3 separate regions of the Homo sapiens genome follow, and all the other regions are linked to region 2. The links are contacts of gene promoters, found by promoter capture Hi-C in human tissues and cell types (Jung and others, 2019). All regions are on one chromosome and are shown on one strand. The core of a region is centred on a gene start or on the middle of the fragment in contact, and the rest is flanking DNA. Distances in the headings are between cores, read along the strand shown.

Region 1 (3,393 bases), core at 778-3,277, 1.2 Mb after region 2:
CATGAGATTCTAAGTGAGTGATTTTTATGACTTACCCCTTTGAGGGTCAAACTTTCCATTTTAACCACCTTGATGAAAATATTTATTTCATTAAACACTCATGAAACATTTTTTTAAATTACTTTCCTCTACACTGTAGCATAATAACTACAGTCCACTTTGTACTAAACAGATATATGGCTCACCTCTGCTGTACTGTGAGTTGCAGAAGACGGATATTGCCTCCACATCCATTCAGTACAAAACATGCTACATGCTACAGACATAATAAGATAGACAATCTTTGCCCTCACGAAGCTTACACTCTAACTGGAAAAAATGTATATAAAGTCATGCACCACATAACAAATGTTTCGGTCAGTGACAGACTGCATATACAACAATGGTCCCATAAGATTAGAACACAGCTGAAAGATTCTTATCGCCTAGTGACATAGTAACCATCTTAAAGTCACAGCACAATGCATTACTCAAATATTTGTGGTGATGCTGGTGCAAACAAACCTACTGAATTGCCAGCTGTATAAAGTATAGCAATTTTATACAGTACGTAACTGGTAATGACAACTATGCTACTAGTTTATATTTTTACTACACAATACTTTTCATCATTAGAGTGTACTCCTTCTACTTTTTTTTTTAAGTTATCTAAAACAGCCTCTGGTAGGTCTTTCAGGAGTATTCCAGAAGGCATTGTTATCATAGATGACAGCTCCATGCATGTTATTGCCCCTGAAATGAAGACACTCCAGCAGGACAGAATACAGAAGTGGAAGACAGTGATATTGATGATCCTGACCCTGCATAGGCCTAGGCTAATGTGTGTGTGTCTTAGTTTTTAATGAAAAAGTTTGAAAAAAAATAAAATTCTAAAATATAAAACCTTTTAAAATATGGATATAAAGAAAATATTATTGTACAGTTGTACAACATGTTAATATTTTAAACTAAGTGTTAGTACAACAGAGTCAAAAAGTTAAAAATTTTAAAGTTTGGCCAGGCGTGGTGGCTCACGCCTGTAATCTCAGCACTTTGGGAGGCCAAGGCAGGCGGAACATGAGGTCAGGAGTTTGAGACCAGCCTGGCCAAAACAGTGAAACCCCGTCTCTACTAAGAATACAAAAAATTAGCCAGGCATGGTGGCAGGCGCCTGTAAATCGAGGCTGAGGCAGGAGAACTGCTTGAACCCGGGAGGCGGAGGTGGCAGTGAGCCGAGATTGTGCCACTGCACTCCAGCCCGGGCGACAGAGGGAGACTCCATCTCAAAAAAAAAAAAAAAAAAATTTAAAGTTTATGAAGTAAAAAAGTTACAGTAAGCTAAGCTAGGGTTAATTTATTATTGCAGATAAATTTTATAAATTTAGTGTAGCCTAAATGTTCAACATTTATAAGCATAGACTAACGTCCTAGGCCTTCACATTCACTCACTACTACCTCACCCACAGCAACTTCCAGTCCTGCAAGTTCCATTCATGGTAAGTACCCTATACAGGAGTGCTTTTTAAAAAATATCTTATACTGCATTTTTAGCATATCTTTTCTATTACTTACCATTGAGTTACAGCTGCTTTCAGTATTTGGTACAGTAACATGTACAGGTTTGCAGCCAGGGAGCAACACACAGCCTAGGTATGTAGTAGGCTATAGCATCTAGGTTTGTGTAAGTACACTCTACAATGTTCACAGAGGGACAAAAATTACTTAACAATGCATTTTCTCAGAATGCATCCCCAAAGTTAAGTAACACATGACTGTACATGTACAAAGGTAGGAATAAGAGAAGAAGGTGAGGAGATGAAGGGCTTTATGGGCTATATTAAGAAGTTTCAAATGCACTTTATTCTAAGTGCATTTGGAAGCCATTTGGATTTGATATAGGGAACAGAGGAGAAGTAGGCTGAGGGTTAGGCTGAGCTTATGTATAGAATATCCAAGTGTCCTGTACAAATATTATGCTACTTAGACAAGATCTGTTGTATCATACTTTTATTTTATTTGAGGCGGAGTCTCGCTCTGTCACCCAGGCTGCAGTGCAATGGTGCAATCTCAGATCACTGCAACCTCCGCCTCCTGGGTTTGAGCAATTCTCTCACCTCAGCCTCTGGAATAGCTGGAATTAGAGGCACCCGCCATCATTTCTGGCTAATTTTTGTATTTTTCTAGAGATGGGGTTTCACCATGTTGGCCAGGCTGGTCTTGAACTCCAGACCTCAGGTGACCCACCCACCTTGGCCTCCCAACGTGCTGGGATTACAGACCTGACCCACTGCACCCGGCTGCTCATACTTTTAAAAACAAAATTGTCTGCTCCTTCTCATATTATCGCTTTTTACTTATGTCAGCATTGTAATAGTGGCTCCTAATGCCTTCTAAATTTCTACTTCCCAGAGGAGAATATTAATGTATTAGTACATAACAGATTACCAAAATGGTTAAAAATGTTGAGGTTTTCCAGGTTTTTAGCAAGTATAGACTGAGAAAAATATGAAGATTCTGTCGTCTTAGCAAACCAATTAGAGGTAGAGGCTTTAGAAAAATTATTTCATTAGCCTTTGTCTTACTTCCCAATTTCTAGCTGTTTCTGCCAATAGAAAAAGGAAGTCTGGCCTCTGAATATTATTTCAAAACAAGTGAGAGAACATATTTTCCTAGTATTCTAGTTTCTTCTCTTCTCACATTTGCCTCCTTCCCTCTTCTCTTTCCCTGCAAAAAGGCTGCTCTGGGGGAAAAAAAAAAATATCTGCCTCAGACTATCCCTATTAAAAGTTTAAAAGGGGAAGCTTTAATAAAAATATAAATCTTTATTAAAGTAAAATATTTTGAAATAGTTTAAGTATCTAAGTCAATAAAAAGCCAAGGATGGATCCAAACTATCATGGTTTTTGAGCTCAACAAAACCATCCTCTTCTCACGACAAATTCAACTAGAAAGCATGTAATAGAGTTTAATTCATTCATCAAACAGTTAAGACTGAAAACAATTATTCTTCCTCCAATCAGACCTAAATAATTTACCCAAATCTTTCAAGGATTTGATGTTAAATATTTTTATATTTCAAACATATTCCATCTCTATCTTCTCATTTCTTTCCGGATTCCCATGTTGGTATCCCTTATAGCATTCAGATTTTTTTTTTTTAGGCAGTATTTTAAACCAAGGAAAATGAACCCTAAATCCTCTGTTAGCTTTGAGTCAAATGCAAAGAAACTACCATCAATATGATTTCCCAATAGAAGAGGGACTCCCTTCTTCTTTTCCTTCTTCTTTTCCTTCTTCTTTTCCTTCTTCTTCTCTTGTAATCATAACTAATCTATAGGCAGGAATGCTACAGAACAGATAGTTGCGAGTAATCAGGTTTTAGAGCAGGTAGGTTTACCTACCCTGGTTCTGCTT
Region 2 (3,420 bases), core at 509-3,008:
ACCACCTCTACCCAAGCACTAAATCCATAAATTATAGATGATGTCTGGGATTGTTTAATTCAGTAGAACAGGAAGCACTGGGAATCTTGGGACAGACACACATTTCTGGGAATCAGGAAGATCAGTGGGTGGGTACACTGGGAGGCAAAAGTAAGAAAGGGACTGAGAATGAACCTGCTATTTAGAGCAACAAATCTGCCAGTCGCATAGCCAGGAATCAAGGCCTGACAAGTAATGGAAATCCACAACTTACTCACTGAGGCTGTCCAGGCAGTGTGCTGCTGTAACAACCCGATCTTCTTGAATCAAGCTTCCTCCACAGAAGTGGTGCTCATCTGATTTTAGGGAGACCTACCCAAGAAGAAAGTTACAAATGCAGCTAATATGTCTCCCCACATATGTATCTCCATCGGAAACACTGGAGATCAACTTTTCTAATCTGACATAATATTCTTAAAATACCGACATAAATTGGATAGTAAGATAGTTCCTACGAAGTAAACTTTTTGGTAGAGAGCTAGAGGGGTTCAGGAGAAAAACTACATATCAACGTGCATTCTTGCTTTCGAAACAAAGGAAATATTTCACTGTTTTCTCATTAAGAAATCAATGCCTTTGTTGCACTGACCTGCCATGGATGTCCAGTCACTGTTGAATTTCTCCAACTACTAATTCTAGAGAAGAATCTAGATCCCACGGCAGGTTCCTTACTTTTCATGTTGACCATGCGAATTCCACACTTCAGTCCTGTGTAGAAGAGCATGTGTGTGTGCACACACAGAGCCTTATGTAAGAGTTCACTTTACCAAGATTTCCCATTTGGATTTTCCTGGCCTGGCACAGACATTCTGATAGCACTTAGCTGCAGACTACCACATTCTTCTCTCAATATTTTCTTCAGAATATCCCACAGTCACCTGGGTTGACCGGAATTTGCCTCCTGTCTGCTCCCTTTCAGCCTGTGTTACCACTGGGCAGGAAGGAGCCAGCGCTGCCTCTGGTAGGTGACTTGGGGCTTACTCTGGGAAGATGCAAATTTAGGTTGTGTTAAAGATACCAGGAGCCACATGCAGTGGTTCCCGCCTGTAATCCCAGCACTTTGGGAGGCCCAGGTAGGCTGATCACTTGAACCCAGGAGGTCAGAACCATGGGCAACATGACAAGACCCCATCTCTACAAAAAAATGTAAAAATTAGCCAAGTGTGGTGGTACGTGCCTATGGTCCCAGCTACTCAGGAGGCAGAGGCAGGAGGATCACATTAGCCCTGGAGTTTGAGGGAGCCGTGATCGCATCACTGCAGTCCAGCCTGGGTGACAGAGCCAGACCCTGTCTCAAACAAACAAACAAAACAAAAGATACTGAGGAATGACCTATACTACTCCGGAAGGGAGATATTTGTCTTTAAGTTACTTCTACTTGGTTAGGTTTCCTTGGAGGAGGCTCCTTAGTACACACATGATTAGCAGGTGTGCCTACAAACGAACTCTAAAATGCAAAAAATTTCAAAAAGGCAGTCTGGCCCAGACCTTCCTTTGGGGACATCTGAGCATGCACCACCCCCTCACCCTTTCTTCCCAAATGCCTCAGGTGTGGCTATACCACCCCGACTTCCTGAGGCAAGGAGTAATGAAGTCTTCCCTCTCCAGCACGCTCAGCCTCCTCCGCAGTCCTGGTGCCCAGGTCCCTAGGCTCACCTAGGCTTCTGGGGTGGCCGATGACCAGCAACAGCAACAAACCAGCACTGGCCAGCAGGCCCATAGCCTCCACGCACCGGCCTCGCACGTCCTCCCTCCCTGCAGGCTGAGAAAACTGTGGTGAAGGCGGGGGTCTCGCCCTTTATCCCCTCCTGCGGTGCCTATGGGCAGCACCTGCCGTGGCGCCTTGGTTCGCAGGTGTCCCTCTTCACGATCATTTGATCATTGTGAGCTGCCGCCGCTCTCTGGTCACCCCTGGTGTCACAGTGCCCCGCCACCCAGCCTTAGAGACTGGCACGAGGTGGCCCAAGGGGTGACAGTGGTGCTCACACGTGTGCAGAGGTTCCTGCTAGCAGATCCACAGCAAGCCAATCAGTGGCCTGGAACGCTTAGCCCTGCGAATTCCCAGACTGGGGAGTGCGGTCCAAGCTCAGGGGCAATGAAGCTGGTCCCCCACACGAAACACAGGCAGGACTTCTGAAAGGCGGAGGGTCAGGAAGCTTAGTACAATACTGCCCCTTCTAAGAAGCTTGTTGCCCTTGACCCTCTAGAGTTTTCAAAGAGTGAATAGGAAAGATCAGGCTTGAGCTGACATCATTTTCTGGGTGGCAGTACTGTCCTCCATTTCAGCAGAATGGCCCCAAAACTGTAGGATCCATCATTTAAGATGATTAAAATTAATCTAGTGGTGAGATATCACTTTTTTTCCCATGAATATTATTTTGTAATAAGTTAAGCTGAAGTTAGAAGACAAAGCCAGAATTTGTAATGGTCTTATATTTTGTCAGAAAATTAAGGCAAGGCTAAGTGGACATTCCATATATATCAAATAACCTGGCCACCAGTCCTTCAGCACCAGTTGGAGGATTTTACGTTCAAGTGCTCTATTTTACTTTCATGTAAAATAGAAATAAAAGCTTCTTGAGGTAGGAGGGTACATAAACTAATGGGGGCAGGTGGGAGATGAGCAGGTAGATGGGAAAACAGAAGGCAGTCAAGGTGGAGAGAATGCAGGCACAGGTACAAGCAGGTGACAATCTACTGGGGACAATGACCTCTGTGACTGCAGGAGAGAGCAGAGGGTAAATGGACACCATTTGAAGAAAAGACTAAAAAAAGTGAATGATGCCTGTCGCTGTGGCATCTTCAAAAGGTGTCCATTTACCCTCTGTGGCTAGTGGCTACCATATTGAACAGCACAAATACAGAACATTCTGTCATCACCAATAGTTTTATGGGACTGTGCTGTTCTTGAGAGTAGCACTATTTTCTTTTGAGTATTTATTTCAAGGAAAGACACCTCGGATGACAGTTTGAGTAGATGACTCCTTAGTTTCATGCCTGGGTGTCTAGGGGATAGGGGGTGTCCAGCATGCTCTTAAGGTAAGCAGCTCTTCTGTGAAAATAAAACATTGAACCTCCAGGCTTCAGTACTGTCCAGGGAATGTCCAGATGTGTGGCTACCTGAACAGTGGCCCTCACCACTTTCCTCCCTGTAGTCATCACACAGGGGTGACCATTTGAACCACCATGCCAGCTCCAGGGCCACACCGTTCTCCAATAAAAGCTCAGAGCCCCCACATGGACCCAAAGCCCTCTTTCTTTTTAGCAAGAGGTAAGATGAAACCCACCAAAAAGCCTTTACTAAACAAAAGGGTAAGGACTAGAAGGTGAACATGTGCTGTGCAAGAACGGTCAGGCCAGCAATATTCAAGTTGCTGGTCA
Region 3 (3,643 bases), core at 89-2,588, 1.1 Mb after region 2:
AGCCCACCCCACCCTGGCTTGACCACTGCTCATTCATGAAGCTGCACCTTGTTTCTTCCTTTCTTGGGAAGCTTTCCCTGACTACCCCAGCCACTTTGAGCTTGCTTCTGCAGAACTCTTTAAATACTGTCTATATCCATCATTTGAAAGTCACAATCTGTTGAATTGTGGTGTTAGGTCTCTCTATAACAATGTTTTATATCTTCCACTGCACTGGAAGTTCTTTAAGAAGAAAGACTGATTCTTTCTGTTTAAAACACTATGTCTTGCATCCAGTAGGTGTTTTATATCCACAGCATTAAAAATAAAAAGTATACATATTTTGCTCATTGATAAACACTTACAAATAGAGGCACCGTATGTTTTCCTTTTATTGGGCAAAGCCACTCCTTGGGCTCTATGATGTCTTAAAGTCATGCCAATTATATTTTGGACAAAACTTCAAGTTACAAAATTATGTCTGAAAATGAACAAGTGACTTTTGAAAAATAAATGCAAAGAAATTTGGAGAAAGTAAATTGAGGTTGAACCCTCAATAGAGACAACAATGCCAAATTTCAGATTGAAGTTATCTGGATATTCTCTCATCTGGTAAAAATTTTCAACATCGACCTTCTTAAGTTTTTTTACTAACATAATTTTATAATAAATTTATAAATATATACTATATGCATATATACATATGTAAACATGTTACTAAAATTATAAGGACTTAAAAAAAAGGCACTTGCTGATTGACCAATGGATCAAATAGTCTTACATGGAGGATAAATATATTTGAGTTAATAATAACAGCTAAAATGTGTTGGGTACTTACTACGTGACAGGCACTATTCTAACAGCTTTATATGTATTAACTAATTAAATGTTGATAACCACCCTATAAGTTAGATAATATTATTATCCTCATCTTACAAATAAACTAAGACACAAGAAGATTAAGTAACAGGCCCAACATCACAAGCTAATAAGTGACACAGTCAGGATTTTAGCCCATAGATTTAATTACTACACTATACTCCTTCTCTGGTTAAATATTAATTACTCCAAGAATACATACCCTGCAAGTTTAATCATTTCTTTTAATAGCACAGTTTTTTTATTATTTAGCTCTTTTAATGAAACTAACACAATAAAAGCGTGGACCAAAAAGAAAAAAACTTGGAGAGGGGTGGATAATGCTCTTCGAATATTTGAAGACATTTATTGTGGCAACAGAAATTTATTTTGTGTTGCTCTAAATAGATTTGGTATAAAACTAAAGCTGATAGTGGATACAGGAGGAATAAACATTTCAGCTTAAAATAAAGGATTTCCAGTCTTTATAGACTTTCTTTCATTAATGATCCAATCTTCTTTTAAGAACATTCAGCATCTTGTCATGGAGATACTTAAGCACAAGCCAGATGACCACATTATGATTAAATAAAAGATGTTACTAAATTGATGTTGAACTGTCCCTAGACAATAATTTTAGGATTTTTCTTTTCTTTCTTTTTTTTGCGGGGAGGGGGAGAGATAGAGTCTCACTTTGTCACCCAGACTGGAGTGGAGTGCAGTGGCATGATTTCGGCCCACTGCAACCTCTGCCTCCCAGGTTCAAGCGATTTTCCTGACTCAGCCTCCCAAATAGCTAGGACTACAGGTGCATGCCACTGTGCCTAGCTAATGTTTGTATTTTTTTTAAGTAGAGACAGGGTTTCACCATGTTGCCCAAGCTGGTCTCGAACTCCTGACCTCAAATTATCTGCCCGCCTTGGCCTCCCAAAGTGCTGGGATTACAGGCGTGAGCCACCACACCCAGCAATGTTAAGATTCTTAATGAGGAGTCAATAATGATGTAAATTTTTTCCAGGATCGAAATTTTTTTTTCAGGAAAAGCTCCATGGCATTGGATTTGGCAATAATTTCTTGGATATTGTAACAAAGGCACAGGTAACAAAAGAAAAATATATAAACAGACAACCAACAGAATGGGAGAAAATTTTTGCAAACTAGGCATTTGACAAAGTTATAATATCTGGCATCTATAAGAAACTTAAACAAATTTACAAGAAAAAAAACAAACAGACCCATTAAAAAGTGGGCAAAGGACATGAACAGACACTTCTCAAAAGAAGACATACATGTAGCCAACAAGCATATGAAAAAGAAGTTCAACATCACTGATCATTAGAGAAATGCAAATCAAAACCACAATGAGATACCATCTTACAACCATCGAAATGGCTATTGCTAAGAAGTCAAAAAATAACAAATGCTGGTGAGGTTGTGGAGAAAAAGGAACGCTTATACACTGTTGGTGGACATGTAAATTGCTTCAACCATTGTGGAAAACAGTGTGGCAATTCCTCAAAGGCCTAAAGATAGAAATACCATTTGACCCAGCAATCCCATTGCTGGGTATATGCCCAAAGGAAAACAAATCATTCCATTATAAAGACACATGCACACACATGCTCACTGCAGCACTATTCACAATAGCAAAGACATGGAATCAACCCAAATGCCCATCAATGATAGATCGGATAAAGAAAATGTGGTACATATATGGGATGGAATATTATGCAGCCATAAAAAAGAACAAGATCATGTCCTTTGCAGGGACATAGATGGAGCTGGTGGCCATTATCCTTAGCAAACTAACACAGAAACAGAAAAGCACATACATATGTTCTCATAAGTGGGAGCTAAATGATGAGAACACATGGACACATGCAGAGTAACAACACACACTGGGGCCTATCAGAGGGTGGAGGGTAGGAGGAGGGAGAAGATCAGGAAAAATAACTAATGGGTACTAGGCTTAATACCTGAGTGATGAAATAATCTATGCAACAAACTCTTATGACATATTTACATATGTAATAAACCTGTACCTCTACCCCTGAACTTAAAATATGTTTTTTTAAAAAGAAAAGAAAAATAGACATTGGACTTCATAAAAATCAAAACTTTTGTGCGTCAAAAGATGCTGTTAGCAGAATAAGAAGGCAACTCACAGAATCAAAGAAAAGTTTGTAAATAATATATCTGAAAAAAGATTAATATCAAAATATATATCGTGAACTTCTAAAACCCAACAACAAAAAAGCAAATAACCTGATTCAAAAATCGGCAAAGAACTTGAATAGACATTTCTCCAGAAAAGATATATGAATGGCCAACAAGCACATGAAGATGCTCAATTTCACTAATCATTGAAGAAATGCAAGTCAAAACTACGATGAGATAACCACCATACACCCCTTAGGATGACTACTAACAATGACAACAACAACAGCAACAAATAAAAATAAAAAACAGAAAATAACAAGTGTTGGCAAAGATGTGGAGAAATGAATTCTTGCGAACTGTGGTCAGATTCTAAGACGATGTAGCCTCTACGAAAAACAGAGTAGAGGTTCCTAAAAATAGAATTATAAATCAGCAATTACACTTCTGGGTACATATTCAAAAGAATTGAAAACAGGGTCTAGAAGAGATTTTGTATACACATATTCATAGCAGTATTATTCACAGTAACTTACACCTAGAAGTAACCCAAGTGTCCACTAACAGATAAATGGATAAGCAAAATGTGGTATATACATAACAATGAGGTATTATTTGGCCTTTAAAGGGAAGGAAATTCTGACACATG

What was found. Contacts are between HindIII fragments. The study calls those that stand out against the background at their distance.
Region 1: a contact is called between a fragment that was not itself captured here and the fragment with the promoter of OVCH1 in region 2, in 1 of the 25 tissues and cell types used here (dorsolateral prefrontal cortex).
Region 3: a contact is called between a fragment that was not itself captured here and the fragment with the promoter of OVCH1 in region 2, in 1 of the 25 tissues and cell types used here (H1 embryonic stem cells).

The regions. Positions count from the first base shown.
Region 1 is chr12:30,676,861-30,680,253 of GRCh38, forward strand. All of the region lies in intron 5 of IPO8 (importin 8), which reads right to left. Among named protein-coding and RNA genes, the nearest start is that of IPO8, 17 kb to the right of the region's middle. The HindIII fragment of the contact is 4,132 bases long and covers 1-3,393 here.
Region 2 is chr12:29,495,928-29,499,347 of GRCh38, forward strand. It overlaps OVCH1 (ovochymase 1), which reads right to left and starts at 1,759. Exons shown (of 26, transcript NM_001353179.2): 1 at 1,696-1,759; 2 at 629-747; 3 at 254-351. The coding sequence starts at 1,759. The HindIII fragment of the contact is 2,638 bases long and covers 1-2,418 here.
Region 3 is chr12:30,553,034-30,556,676 of GRCh38, forward strand. No RefSeq gene overlaps it. Among named protein-coding and RNA genes, the nearest start is that of IPO8, 140 kb to the right of the region's middle. The HindIII fragment of the contact is 6,980 bases long and covers 1-3,643 here.